Linked DNA regions of Homo sapiens: all the other regions are linked to region 3. The links are contacts of gene promoters, found by promoter capture Hi-C in blood cells and fetal thymus (Javierre and others, 2016). All regions are on one chromosome and are shown on one strand. The core of a region is centred on a gene start or on the middle of the fragment in contact, and the rest is flanking DNA. Distances in the headings are between cores, read along the strand shown.

Region 1 (3,069 bases), core at 51-2,550, 93 kb after region 3:
CTTTGACAAGACATACTGATGATCTCTGAAGTCCCTGCGGCCTGCAAAGAATATTTGCAAACAGAGTTTTATGATGCTGAGGATGATTCTGAAGCCACAGAGAAAGACATCATTTTTCTTCTTTTCTTTCTGCAATTTCTTTCATTAGCACTTCGGAGCACCTATAGTCGCCATGAGTTGAAATCTCATGAGTTAGTAGTAAGAGCAGAATCAGAGAGGCTAAACACTGAAAATACAGAAAGGAAATGGGTAGAGTAGGATTTTAGCAAGAGGAAGTATACGGTTGTGATGCTTTGCACCTATAGGAAATGATGGCTGGGGCTGTGGCAGCCACGTTACCACCGTGAGGGATGACATTGCCCACATGCTGAGGAGCCTGAGTCTATAAGAACATCATTCAACTGATGCATTGACCCCTGGAGAACCTCCCCGCCTTTGGGGGACCAGCAGTTCTGTAAAATAATACGTGTCCTTATTGCTTTTTTTTTTTGAGATGGAGTCTGGCTCTGTCCCCCAGGCGGGAGTGCAGTGGCGCGATCTCGGCTCACTGCAAGATCCACCTCCTGAGTTCACGCCATTCTCCTGCCTCAGCCTCCCGAGTAGCTGGGACTACAGGCGACCGCCACCATGCCTAGTTATTTTTTTGGATTTTTAGTAGAGACGGGGTTTCACCGTGTTAGCCAGGATGATCTCAATCTCCTGAGTTCACGCCATTCTCCTGCCTCAGCCTCCCGAGTAGCTGGGACTACAGGCGACCGCCACCATGCCTAGTTATTTTTTTGGATTTTTAGTAGAGACGGGGTTTCACCGTGTTAGCCAGGATGATCTCAATCTCCTGACCTCGCGATCTGCCTGCCTCGGCCTCCCAAAGTGCTGGGATTACAGGCACGAGCCACTGTGCCTGGCATCCTTATTGTTTTAAGATGTTTGGAATTTATTCTTCTCTTACTTGCAGCCAACAGCATCCTACATGAGGCAGCCAGGGTAAGTGGTCCACATACAATGGGTGAACAAGTGCTTATCCAGGAATTGAAAGAGCCTGGCTCATTCAGTGCTAGGACCAGAGCCCTCAGTGGACATTGTCCCACCTTTCAGCACTGAGGATGCCTCCTCCCCTCCAAGCCAGTCATTGCTGTATGTGATCATGTTAATTAGGTATCCATATTCCACAGGAGGGAGCAACGAGGTTTTCTTTTTTTTTTTTAAGATGGAGTCTTGCTCTGTTGCCCAGGCTGGAGTAAAGTGGTGCCATCTCAGCTCACTACAACCTCCTGGTTCCAGCAATTCTCCTGCCTCAGCCTCCCAGGTAGTTAAGATTACAGGTGCCCACTACCACATTGGGCTAAGTTTTGTATTTTTAGTAGAGATGGGGTTTCACTATGTTGGCCAGGCTGGTCTCAAACTCCTGACCTCAAGCTATCCGCCCACCTTGGCCTCCCAAAGTGCTGGGATTACAGGCATGAGCCACCACGCCTGGCCGCAATGAGGTATTTTTTTGTTTTTTTGTTTTTGTTTTTGTTTTTTTTCAATTCTAGCCGCCAATCACAAAATTTAACTAAGGTCCCTCCCAGCACACACCTGTCATCCATCCTGAAAATTTAAAGTAAAGGTATAAAAATATCAAAACCATGATTGCCTTTGGGGATGGAGTGGAGGTGGGGATTATCTGGGAAGGGGCATAAGGGGATTTTGCAGGGGTCACGGAGATGTTCTTTATCTTAACAGGGGCTTGTAGTCTAAAGCAGAAGCGTATACTTATTACATAAGTGCATTCATTGGTCAAAACTCAGCAAATGGAGATGGGAACAGTGGCTCATGCCTGTAATCTCAGCTACTGAGGAGGCTGATGCATGGGGATCACTTGAGGCCAGGAGGTCAAGACCAGTCTGTGCAACACAGAAAGACCTTATCTCTTTTAAAAAAAAAATTGTTTTAATTCCCCAGGCATAGAACTCACCCTGTGGAGAAAAAAAAAAAAAATTAGCCAGGCGTGGTGGCATATTTCTGTAGTACCAGTTACTTTCAAGGCTGAGGCAGAAGGATCGCTTGAGCCCAGGAGGTCAAGGCTGCAGTAAACTATGATCACACCACTGCACTCCAGTCTGGGGTACAGAGTGGGAGCGCATCTCTAAATAATAATGACAATACTAAGAAATTCAGCAAATGGATGTTTCATATGTGTGCATTTCATTGCATGCAAATTTATAAAATCTCAAAGATAACTGCAAACATTGAACTCCAGTTGGTGATATGAATCCTGAAATGTTTAAGGGTAAAGAGTACTGATGTCTGCTTTAAAATTCTTTAACCTTCTTTAAAAATACATTTTTAAAAAATCAGATGACTTGATAGAGGAATGGACTGATAGATATGTAATAAAGTAAATACAGAAAAATGTTAACAATTGTAGAATCTAGATGATGGGGCCAGGTGCGGTGGCTCACGCCTGTAATCCCAGCACTTTGGGAAGCTGAGGCAGGTGGATCGATCACCTGAGGTCAGGAGTTTGAGACCAGCCTGGCCAACATGGTGAAACACCATCTCTACCAAAAATACAAAAATTAGCCAGGCGTGACAGCGCATGCTTGTAATCCCAGCTACTCAGGAGAATCACTTGAACCCGGGAGGCAGAGGTTGCAGTGATCTGAGATCATATCACTGCACTCCAGCCCGGGTGACAGAGTGAGACTCCGTGTCAAAAAATAAAATAAAATAAAATAAAATAAAATAAAAGTGATGATGATCATAGTTATGAACAACAGTGAGAGTTCACACACTGCCTGTACTGTGGGCAAAGCCCGTTCTCAGTGCTTCGTGTGAATGAATTTGTTCACTCCTCACTACAACCTTCTGAGATAGATACTGTTATTCTCATTCACAGATGTGGACCCTGAGACCAGGGAGGTTGCGTGGCATCATTACATCAGAAGGGGAGTGGTCTGAATCCACTCCTCCCCTTCCAGGGCAGGAAGTCAACAGAGAAGGGCTCTGTGGTAACGTTGACAATCACAAATCAGTGGCATAAACATCTCCTTAAGACATGCAGAGGCAGCTGGGCGTGGTGGCCCA
Region 2 (3,078 bases), core at 299-2,798, 110 kb after region 3:
AAATTTAAAAAATTAGCTGGACATGCTGACATGCGCCTGTGGTCCTGGCTGCTCAGGAGGCTGAGGTGGGAGGATTACTTGAGCCCAGGAGGTTGAGGCTGCAGTGAGCCAGTCACAGCACTGCACTCCAGCCTGGGTGACAGAGCAAGACCCTGTCCCAAAAAAGAAAACAACAAACCAAAAAAAATGGAGAGTAATGATTGTACCTCATAAGGTTATTTGGAGGAGTTAGCAAGGGCACTCCTTAAATGATTTGTCCACCTGCCTTTGCCTGTCTGGTCTCATCTCCTTCACTCTCCCCTTTACTCACTCTGCCTAGCCACGCTGCTCTCCTAGATGTTCCTCTGACATGCTGGGTGCAGTCTTGGCCCTGGCTGTTCCCTCTGTCCCCAGGGCTTCCTCGCCTCCTTTCAGTCTGGGCTGAAATGGCAGCTTCTCAGAGGAGCCTTCCCTGACCCCACCACTTGACACTTTTAACCTCCCCTATTCCCAGCATCCCTTCCTGCTCCGTCACCATCCAAAATACTATAGGTCGGGCACAGTGGCTCAGGTTTGTAATCCCAGCACTTTGGGAGGCCGATGTGGGAGGATCACTTGAGCCCAGGAGTTTGGGCTCAGCCTGGGCAACAAAGTGAGACCTCATCTCTACAAAACTTAAAAACTTAGCCGGGTGTGGTAGTGCATGTCTGTAGTCCCAGCTACTGTGGAGGCTGAGATGGGAGAATCACCTGAGCCCGGGGAATTGAGGCTGCAGTGAGCTGTGATTGTGCCACTGTACTCCAGCCAGGGTGAAAGAGCAAGACCCTGTCTCTAATAATAATAACAATAATAATAATAAAACTATATATTTATGCGCCACAAGGGCAAGAATCTCCGTTGGTTGTGTTCTTCACTGTTTCCCAGGTCCCTAGAATGGAGCTTGGCATATAAATATGCAGTGAACACGTGTTTAGTGGAGAAATGAATCAGGCACCGACACACCCAGCGTGGTGGAAGAACAGAGAGGATATTCCACAGACAATATCATAAAAGCTTGCATTCCCAGCTAGGTACATTGTGGAACTTCTTATTGGATGCTATGGCAGGCACTCTACAGTCTTTAGTCCCCTTAACACATCACAATGACCCTGTGTGGCCAGGGGCTGGCAAGACCTCTGCACTGAGTTAGACAGTGGCCCCCGCAAAATGCATGTCCTTCCCAGAACCTCAGAATGTAACATTATTTGGAAATTGGATCATTGCAGATATAATCAGTTGAGATGAGAGCATATTGGAATAAGGTGGGCCCTCAATCCCATCTGACCGGTGTCCTTTTAAGAAAAGGAAAAGAGAGACAGGGACACAGACACCCAGGAAGAATGCCAAGTGATGATGGAGGCGGGCATTGGAGAGAAGCAGCCACAAGCCAGAGAAGACCGGGATCTCTGACTGCATCCAGAAGCTAGAAAAAAGGAGGATTCTGCCCAGCTCACTCAGAGGGACTGAGAGGGAGCGTGGTTCTACTGACACCTTGATTTCAGACTTACGGCCTCCAGAAGGGTGAGACAATGGATTTCTGGGGTTTTTTTGTTTTTTTGTTTTTTGAGTCAGAGTTGTCTCGTGATGTTGCCCAGGCTGGAGTGCAGTGGTGTGATCTCGGCTCACTGCAACCTCCGCCTCCCGGGTTCAAGTGATTCTCCTGCGTCAGCCTCCTGAGTAGCTGGGATTACAGGCACGTGCCACCATACCTGGCTAATTTTTGTATTTCTAGTAGAGACGGGGTTTCACCATGTTGGCCAGGCTGGTCTCGAACTCCTGACCTCAGGTGATCCACCCACCTCGGCCTCCCAAAGTGCTGGGATTACAGGCATGAGCCACCGCGCCCAGCCTGCATTTCTTATTAAGGGGCAGGTGGACTGGGGGAGAGGAGGGGAAGGGGCTATTTTCCAGAGGCTCCTGGCAGGAAGTAAGAAGATGAGTGTGAGTTCTGGGAGGCAGGCCTTGATGGGAAGCCCCGGGGGCACCAGCCTCTCCTCCAAGGTCTCACTGACCTTTCCAGATGAAGCAGGGGCCTGTTGGAGCCCCTAAGCTTCCTGGGCTTCCCCCATCACAGCCCCATCTGTCTGCCTGGGCTTCTCCCATCCCGGCTCGCACCACCCTGGGCTGTGTCCCCCTCGGACTGTTTAAGAGCAGGGCCTGGCACTGTCCTGATGACCACTACGTGGCTGAACTGCAAAGAACGCCCACTCATCCCTCTGCACATATTACCAGGAAGGATCCCCTGACCGGAAGAATCTGGGTAGGGGCCAGAGGCAGGGATTCCATCACCTGTACATGGATCCTAAGGGACAGTCGAGCCACACAAATTCTGTCTTCTCATCGAGCCTGAAGTTGTCAAAAATGACGTAATCCACCCTTAACTGTGTGTTATTGGTGCACTGGACGTGGCAGGCTTCCACCTGCAGCTCAGGCCGCAAGCGGCTAGACCACACCAGCACCTCTCCCAGATAGAGCCAGCAGGGCATGGCTTCCTCCAGAGGCTCCTCAATGTAGCGGTACCCCAGGCGTTTACACTCGCCCGGCTCCTCACAGCGGTTGCAGTCCTGCCAGGGCTCCCACCAGGTAAAAATGAGCTGTTTGCTGCCCAAATGCAGGGTCTCGTTCTGCAGGGGCCTCTGACCCAGGTCCTTGTGTGTTATATGCAGGGTGGTGACATCCTGAAAGTCAATTTCATACTGCACCACTTGGCGGCCATTCTTGTTCCAGCAGTGGTAGAGGCCCGTCTGGGAGGGCAATGGATCTTTAATGAGAAGGCTGCCCTCGGGCATTATTTCCATATTGGAAATATTGGTGAGGCTGGTGAGCCTGCCCTTCTTGCCTTGTGTGAATAAATAGTACCAGTGCGCCCCCGAGGAGTTGCAATACAGGAGAATATCATTGCCTGAGAGTAGGGCCTGTTGGCACTGCTTACCACTGGGGCAGCTGATGGAAAAGTAGAACCCCAGTGCCGGGGCAGCAAAGTGGAGCAGCAGCCACAGCATGGGTGGCATGGTGGACTGGGGCTGTGGCAGTGGGCTGGTGCCACCCCGAACATTGTGA
Region 3 (3,291 bases), core at 201-2,700:
ATGCAAAATTCAAAAAATATAAGAGGGCACGTGATAATGAGTGAGTCTCACTTCCACCCCACCCTCCAGCCTCCCAGTTTCCCTCTCCAGAAGCCATGGGTATGGATGCCAATCTCCAAAAATATTTTATTCATTACAAGTATATACATATGCATTATTTTACCGCTCACAAATGGTAGCACACTGCACGGTTTCCCAATACCTTGTTTTTTTTCCCCTTAGCAAGCTGTCTGGGAAATACTTCTGTATCTAACCACGGGCAGGGGTGTTCCTCCAAGATTTTTAGACAACAGTTCTCCAGTTCACCCCGTTCCGGTGAAGGGCAGAGCACCCCCCGCCCTTCCCAGCCACCCTGTACACGCCCCTACTCGCTCTCGGATGCCTGCAGTTCCCAGGCTTCCCAGCAGAGGGAGACACCATTCCACTCCCAAGACCACCAAGGGGTCGTCCCAGACACAAGCTTCAAGGGTCTAGGGAAGAGACGCTATCCGCCCAGACACAAAGACCCCCCTTAGCTATACTGAGTTGGCCTCCGGGCCTCCCCTTCCTGTTTCTATCTCCTCCTGGACCTGTTGCTTAGAGCCCTACCCCGAGGTCCCCCCGCCCGGCTTCCTTATGGGAACTGGCCCCGCCTTAAGAGTGGTAGGAGGGAGCCTTACCCTTGTCTAGGACCTGGGCTTGACAACTTGCCCCAGGGAACCACATAGAGAAGGGGTGTAGCGCTGGGCGAACATTGCCCTCCCCGATCCCTCAGCGATGACAAGTGGGGGGTCCTTCTCTCTGCCCCCAGCAGGCCAGTTTCCGGAAGAGCCTTGACCCAAACCCCCTTTTCCTGTCCTGTGCTCCACACTCCCAGCAGCTGCTTCTCCCTGGCCAGGCCCTGCAGCCCTCCTCCCCGCCCCCACGGTGGTGTTGGGGTCGCCTGGAGTCCAGCTGGTGTCCAGGGCAGAGCTACCCCTTTCCTGGCCCTACCCCTCCCCGTGACCCCAATCCTCCGCCAACCGCTCAAAGGATCCTTGTTCTCCATCCAGCCCCCAGACAAAAGTCCCTCTGTCTAAGAAGGCGGAATTGAGGGGAGGGGGCACCCCCAACTGGGACCATGGGGGAGCCTGCACAGACCCCATCCGGAAGGAATGCCTGGAGGAGGAGGAGCAGGAGACAGGGGAGGAAAGGGGGAGGGAGGCTTGTACAGTGCTGGGGGCCTTATGTGGACTAGGAGGCAGCCGCCCCCACCAGCACCCACTCTGTAGACCCAGGCGTCTGGCTCCCAGCACCCACGGAAAGAGCCTGGCTAGGAAACTGCAGCCTGGTGCCTGGCAGACAGTTCTCATTCTCCCCAGGGCAGGGAGCAGGTTATGACCAGGACTAAGGTCCCAGAGTCCCCACCCTGACCCCTCCCTGCTGTTCCAGCCGCTCCCTCATATCCACCCCTGCCCCATCTCCTGACTTTGGTCACGCTAGCATCTTCTGCTGATCCTGAAATTGTACCAGCGGCAAGATGTGGCCTGGAAGGGGACTTTAAGTTCTCCACAACTGCCAGCAATCCTTCCACCAGGCAAAACACATCATCTAAGGAAAAGAAGTGAGGTCGGAACACCAACGCATCATCTCACTGCATGGCCCTGGAGGCTCTGCCGTTTAAAGACCCCAGAACCTTCCCCATTCAAGGTCCTCTCCTGGGCACAGGAGATTGGAGAAAGCTCCTCCCTTAATTCCAGGGGCCGAGTTCCAGCCCATCCAATTCTCCGTCTCACCTGAGGCTGCTGTGGTCCTGGTGACCCCAGGGAGCAACCTGCCGCCCATGGCTGGGGAGGGGGTGAAGCTGTCTCTTTAAGAGCAGGAATGGAGCCCCTGGGCCTCAGGGCATCTGACTTGTTTTCTACCTGCCCAGGTTTGCTTAGGGCGTGGCAGCTTCGGATAAACGCAGGACTCCGCCTGGCAGCCCGATTTCTCCCGGAACCTCTGCTCAGCCTGGTGAACCACACAGGTGAGCAGCTGGGGCCCCTTCCTCCAAGCCCTCCTTGTCTCTGCCCCTAAATTAGGAAGTATCTACCTGCCCCCTGACCCTGCCCCATAGAAGCTTTTATGTTAAAGCGCCTAAAATCTTGTGAAATGCTTTTCTGGAGCCAGGAGATAAACGGAAGTCCCTTCCCCTAATGTCCCTTTCCCCACCATTCTCCTCTCAGGGACTTGTTGAACCAGCTGAGGTGAGGGCAGGACTGATAAGTGTGGTTGGGGTGTCTGAAAGACTAGTGTCTGCATGGATTAGGGATATCTGGGTTGGGGATAGCTGGGTGGAGGAGAGGGGGTGCCTGGGTAGGTAGGGGTATCTAAGTGGACCAGGGGTGCGTAGATGGACTGGGGACATCTGGGTGGATGAGGAATGCTGGGTGGACTCGGGGTGTCCAGACATTGAGGGATCTGGGTGGATAAGGAGTGCTGGGTGGACTCGGGGTGTCCAGACATTGAGGGATCTGGATTCTGGAGACCTCCAGGAAAAAAGGATGGAGCTGCTGGGGGAAGCTTTAAATGGGGAGTTGCTTGGGAGATTTCAGGAGCACACAGCGGGCAGGATCTTTCTACCCACCCCTGAACATGAGACCATTCTCCCATGGTATGGAGGAATAGAGGGGATAGCAGAGGGCAGGTGGGGGAAACAGTCCTCAGGCCGGCCTTGGGACCTCATGGCCAGGAAGGATGAGAGCAGGTAGACAGAGCATCAGCTGCAGGGCTGCCTTCCTCTCTAACCTGCTCACCAACCACATCAGTTCGGGAGCAGCCCACAGCCTCTTCAGACAACAGCCTGAATGGGGAACGTGAGGGCAGACCCAGCTCCCGGCTCCCTGCAGCCTCCGGAAGCATGGGACTGGACGTTGTTTTGCAGAGGCTGGGGCGAGGAGGATACCATCTGTCAGTCTTGGCTGGATGACATCATGGGAAGGGGGTATAGTGGGGCCTTGCAGGCCAGAGGTGGCTTGGAGGAGCCCCTGGAAAGAGGCTTAAGAGGTGAGACTCAACAGCCATGGCGACAGAGCATAGGGCTTTAAGATGAATTTGCAGGGGTTACAGGATTACAACTGCAATGTGGGCTAATAATAGTGCCCCCTGCATTAAGCTGCAGAGATTGAGCGAGTAAGTGGGAAGCTGAGAAAATGCCCCCATGGGGTAGACACTCAATAAGCATCTGCTGTTATTACCAGGACTCGTATGGTCATGGGTGACAGCTTCAGACCACAGGCAGTCCACCTACAACCTGTGCCCCTATCCAACATGCCATCCTGCCCACCCACC
Region 4 (3,326 bases), core at 290-2,789, 74 kb after region 3:
TCACTAGGTCAGGAGTTCAAGACCAGCCTGGCCTCAAGACCAGCCTGGCCAACATAGTGAAACCCTGTCTCTACTAAAAATACAAAAAAATTAGCCAAGAGTGGTGGCGGGCGCCTGTAGTCCCAGCTATTTGGGAGGCTGAGGCAGGAGAATCGCTTGAACCCAGGAGGTGGAGATTGCAGATCGCCACCATGCCTGGCTAATTTTTGTATTTTTAGTAGAGACAGGGTTTCGCCATGTTGGCCAGGCTGGTCTCGAACTCCTGACCTCAGGTGATCCTCTCACCTGAACCTCCCAAAGTTCTATGATTACAGGCATGAGCCACTGTGCCCAGCCGCATGATTTTGATTTTAATTTTAAAATCAAAATTTTATACAGATTTGTTTTGTTGCCTAGTGCAGGTTCTATCCTACAGAATATTCTCCGTGCAGTCGAGAAGATTGTGTATTCTGCTTTTGTTGGGAGAAGTGTGCTATAGTTGTCTGTTATATCTGGTTGATTAATACTGTTCAGATCTTCCATTTTCTTGTTGATTTTATGCCTAGTTGTTCTATCCATTATTGGAAGTGAGGTACTGAAGTCTCCAACTATTATTGTGGATTTGTTCATTTCTCTATTCATTTTTATTAGTTTTTGCTTTATGTATTTTGGTGCTTTATTATTAGATGTATATGTGTTTATATTGTTATATATTCTGATGGACTGACCGCCTTATCATTATACAATGCTTCTCTTTATCTGTAATAACTTTTTTGTTACAAAGCTTATTTTTTCTGACGTTAGTATTGCCACTCCAGCTTTCTTGTAGTCACTGCATGATATATTGATATATTGTCTTTCATCATTTTACTTTACATTTTTGAATCTTACATGTTTTTCCTATAGATAGCTTTTGGCTGTATCTTGGTTTTTAAAAAAAATCTAGTCTGAAATATTTGACTTTTAATTGAATTGTTCATTTCATCAACATTTAATGTTATTATTTATACAATTGGATTTACATCTGCCATATTAGCTTGTGTTTCCTACAAAATTTCTTTATTAGTGCCAGGGGTTTTTTGTTTTATTTATTGATTGATTTTATATTTATTGAGATTTTCTACATAAACAATCATTTCAACTGGGGATGGGAACAGTTTTATTTTTTCCTTCCCAATCTATATGCCTCTTACTTCCATTTCTTGACTTATTACACTGGCTAAGACTTTCAATATGATGTTGAATAGAAATGGTGAACATGCTTGTCTTGTTCCCAATCTTAAGAAAGAAAGCATTCATTTTTCACTGTTTGGTATGATATTAGCTGTAGGCTTTTTGATGCTCTTTATCAGGTTGATGAAGTTCTCTTCTATTCCTAGTTTGCTAGGATTATTTTTTGCAAAACAAAACAAAACATGTATGAGTGTTTTATTTTGTCAATACTTTGTCTGCACCTATTGATATAATCATGATTTTTCTTCTTTAGATGGTTAATATGGTAATAGTGATTGATTTTAAAAAATTGGACCATTGTTGCATTCTTAGTATAAATCCCATTTGGTCATAGTTTATTGTATTTATTCATTTATTATTATTATTATTTTGAGACAGAGTTTCACTCTTGTTGCCCAGGCTGGAGTGCAATGGCAGGATCTCGGCTCACCCCAACCTCTGCCTCCTGGGTTCAAGTGATTCTCCTGCCTCATCCTCCTAAGTAGCTGGGATTACAGGCTGTGCACCACCATGCCTGGCTAATTTTGTATTTTTAGTAGAGATGAGTTTTCTCCATGTTGGTCAGTCTGGTCTTGAACTCCTGATCTCAGGTGATCCGCCCACCTCAGACTCCCAAAGTGCTGGGATTACAGGTGTGAGCCACCGCGCCCGGCCGGTCATAGTTTACTACTCATTTTACATATTGCCGAGTTCAATTTGCTAACATTTTATTGAGTATTTTTGCATCTATATTCATGAGGAGTATTTTAGTTGTGTTTATTATTATTTTTTGTACTGTCTATCTGGTTTGTCATCAGGGTAATGCTGGCTTCATAACATGAGTTGGAGAGTATTTCTCCTTTTGTATTTTCTGGAAGAAATTATGAAGAATTAGTGCTATTTCTTCTTTAAATTACTTATTTAAAACCATTGAAACCACCTGGGCCAGGAGATTTTTTAAAATGGCATTAACTATACATGCAATTTATTTAATAGTTACTAGACTATTCATATTATCTATTTCAACAGTGGTGAATGTAGTAGCTGGTAGTTTTTGAGAAATTGGTCCATTTCATCTAAATTTTGATATTTATGTGTATAGAGTTATTACTGATATTCCTTTATAAGCTTTTTAATAATTATAGGGTCTGTGGTGATAGCTGTCCTCTTTCTACCCTAATATTGATAATCCCTCCCTTCTCTCTCTTCTCTCTTTATCTCTACCTCTATCTCTTTCTCTCCCTTCTTCTCTCCTCAGTCTTGTTAGAGGTTTATCAATTTTACTGATCTTTTCAAAGAAACAGCTTTTGGTTTTACTGATTTCTTCTATTGCTTTTTTGTTTTCATTGATTTTTGCACTTATTTTTTCCTTGCTCTTCATTTGGGTTTATTTTGCTCTTCATTTTCTAATTTCCTATGGTGAAAACTTAGATTATTGACTTGAGATCTTTCTTCTTTTCTAATATAATCAACATTTAAGACTATACATTTTTATATAAGCACTTCTTTAACAGAATTCCACAAATTTTGATAGGTTTCTTACTTTCTTTCAGCTACAAATATTTCCTAATTCCCTTTGGAATGTCCTATTTTTCAAATGATTAAAGATTGTCCTGTTATCTTCCTGTTATTGATTTCTAGTTTAATGCTGGCCAGGTATGGTGGCTCATGCCTGTTATCTCAGCACTTTGGGATGCCAGAGCAGGAGGATCACTTGAGGCAAGGAGTTCAAGACCAACCTGGGCAACATAGCAAGACCTCATCTCTACAAAAAATTTCACGTGAGCCCAGAAGTTTGAGGTTTCAGTGAGCTATGATTGTGCTATTGCACTCCAGCCTGGGTGACAGAGTGAGACTATGTCTCAAAAAAAAAAAAGTTCTAAACGGTCAAAGAACATACTTCATATGATTTCAAATTTTTTCAACTTTTTAACTTCTGTTTCATGACTCACAATTCCATTTGTCACGGTGAGTGTTCCATGTGCATGTAAAAAGGCTGCTTATTCTGCTATTTTGGGGGGAGATGTTCCATAAATATTGATTAAAGCCATTTGGTTGATGGGTAAGTTCTATGTCTGTGATGTATAACTTCTATATCCTTAATTTTCTCTCTACTAATTATATTTATTACTGAG

The links. The method cuts DNA at HindIII sites, captures the fragments that hold promoters and counts their contacts. A CHiCAGO score of 5 or more calls a contact.
Region 1: a fragment that was not itself captured here is called in contact with the fragment with the promoter of FXYD3 in region 3 in 2 of 17 cell types (total B cells and total CD8 T cells); the score reaches 6.9 in total B cells.
Region 2: a contact is called between a fragment that was not itself captured here and the fragment with the promoter of FXYD3 in region 3, in 2 of 17 cell types (naive B cells and total B cells). The highest score is 6.6, in naive B cells.
Region 4: a fragment that was not itself captured here is called in contact with the fragment with the promoter of FXYD3 in region 3 in 1 of 17 cell types (total B cells); the score reaches 5.3 in total B cells.

Annotation. Positions count from the first base shown.
Region 1 is chr19:35,207,992-35,211,060 of GRCh38, forward strand. The region is part of intron 2 of LOC105372379 (a long non-coding RNA gene); the gene reads left to right. Among named protein-coding and RNA genes, the nearest start is that of FAM187B, 19 kb to the right of the region's middle. The HindIII fragment of the contact is 5,425 bases long and covers 1-3,069 here.
Region 2 is chr19:35,225,652-35,228,729 of GRCh38, forward strand. FAM187B (family with sequence similarity 187 member B) reads right to left here. Exons shown (of 2, transcript NM_152481.2): 1 at 2,308-3,078. The coding sequence starts at 3,029. Among named protein-coding and RNA genes, the nearest start is that of FAM187B, 1.5 kb to the right of the region's middle. The HindIII fragment of the contact is 1,036 bases long and covers 1,031-2,066 here.
Region 3 is chr19:35,114,373-35,117,663 of GRCh38, forward strand. It overlaps FXYD3 (FXYD domain containing ion transport regulator 3), which reads left to right and starts at 1,451. Exons shown (of 9, transcript NM_005971.4): 1 at 1,451-1,587; 2 at 1,892-1,987. The HindIII fragment of the contact is 1,620 bases long and covers 459-2,078 here.
Region 4 is chr19:35,188,392-35,191,717 of GRCh38, forward strand. No RefSeq gene overlaps it. Among named protein-coding and RNA genes, the nearest start is that of FXYD5, 35 kb to the left of the region's middle. The HindIII fragment of the contact is 1,556 bases long and covers 762-2,317 here.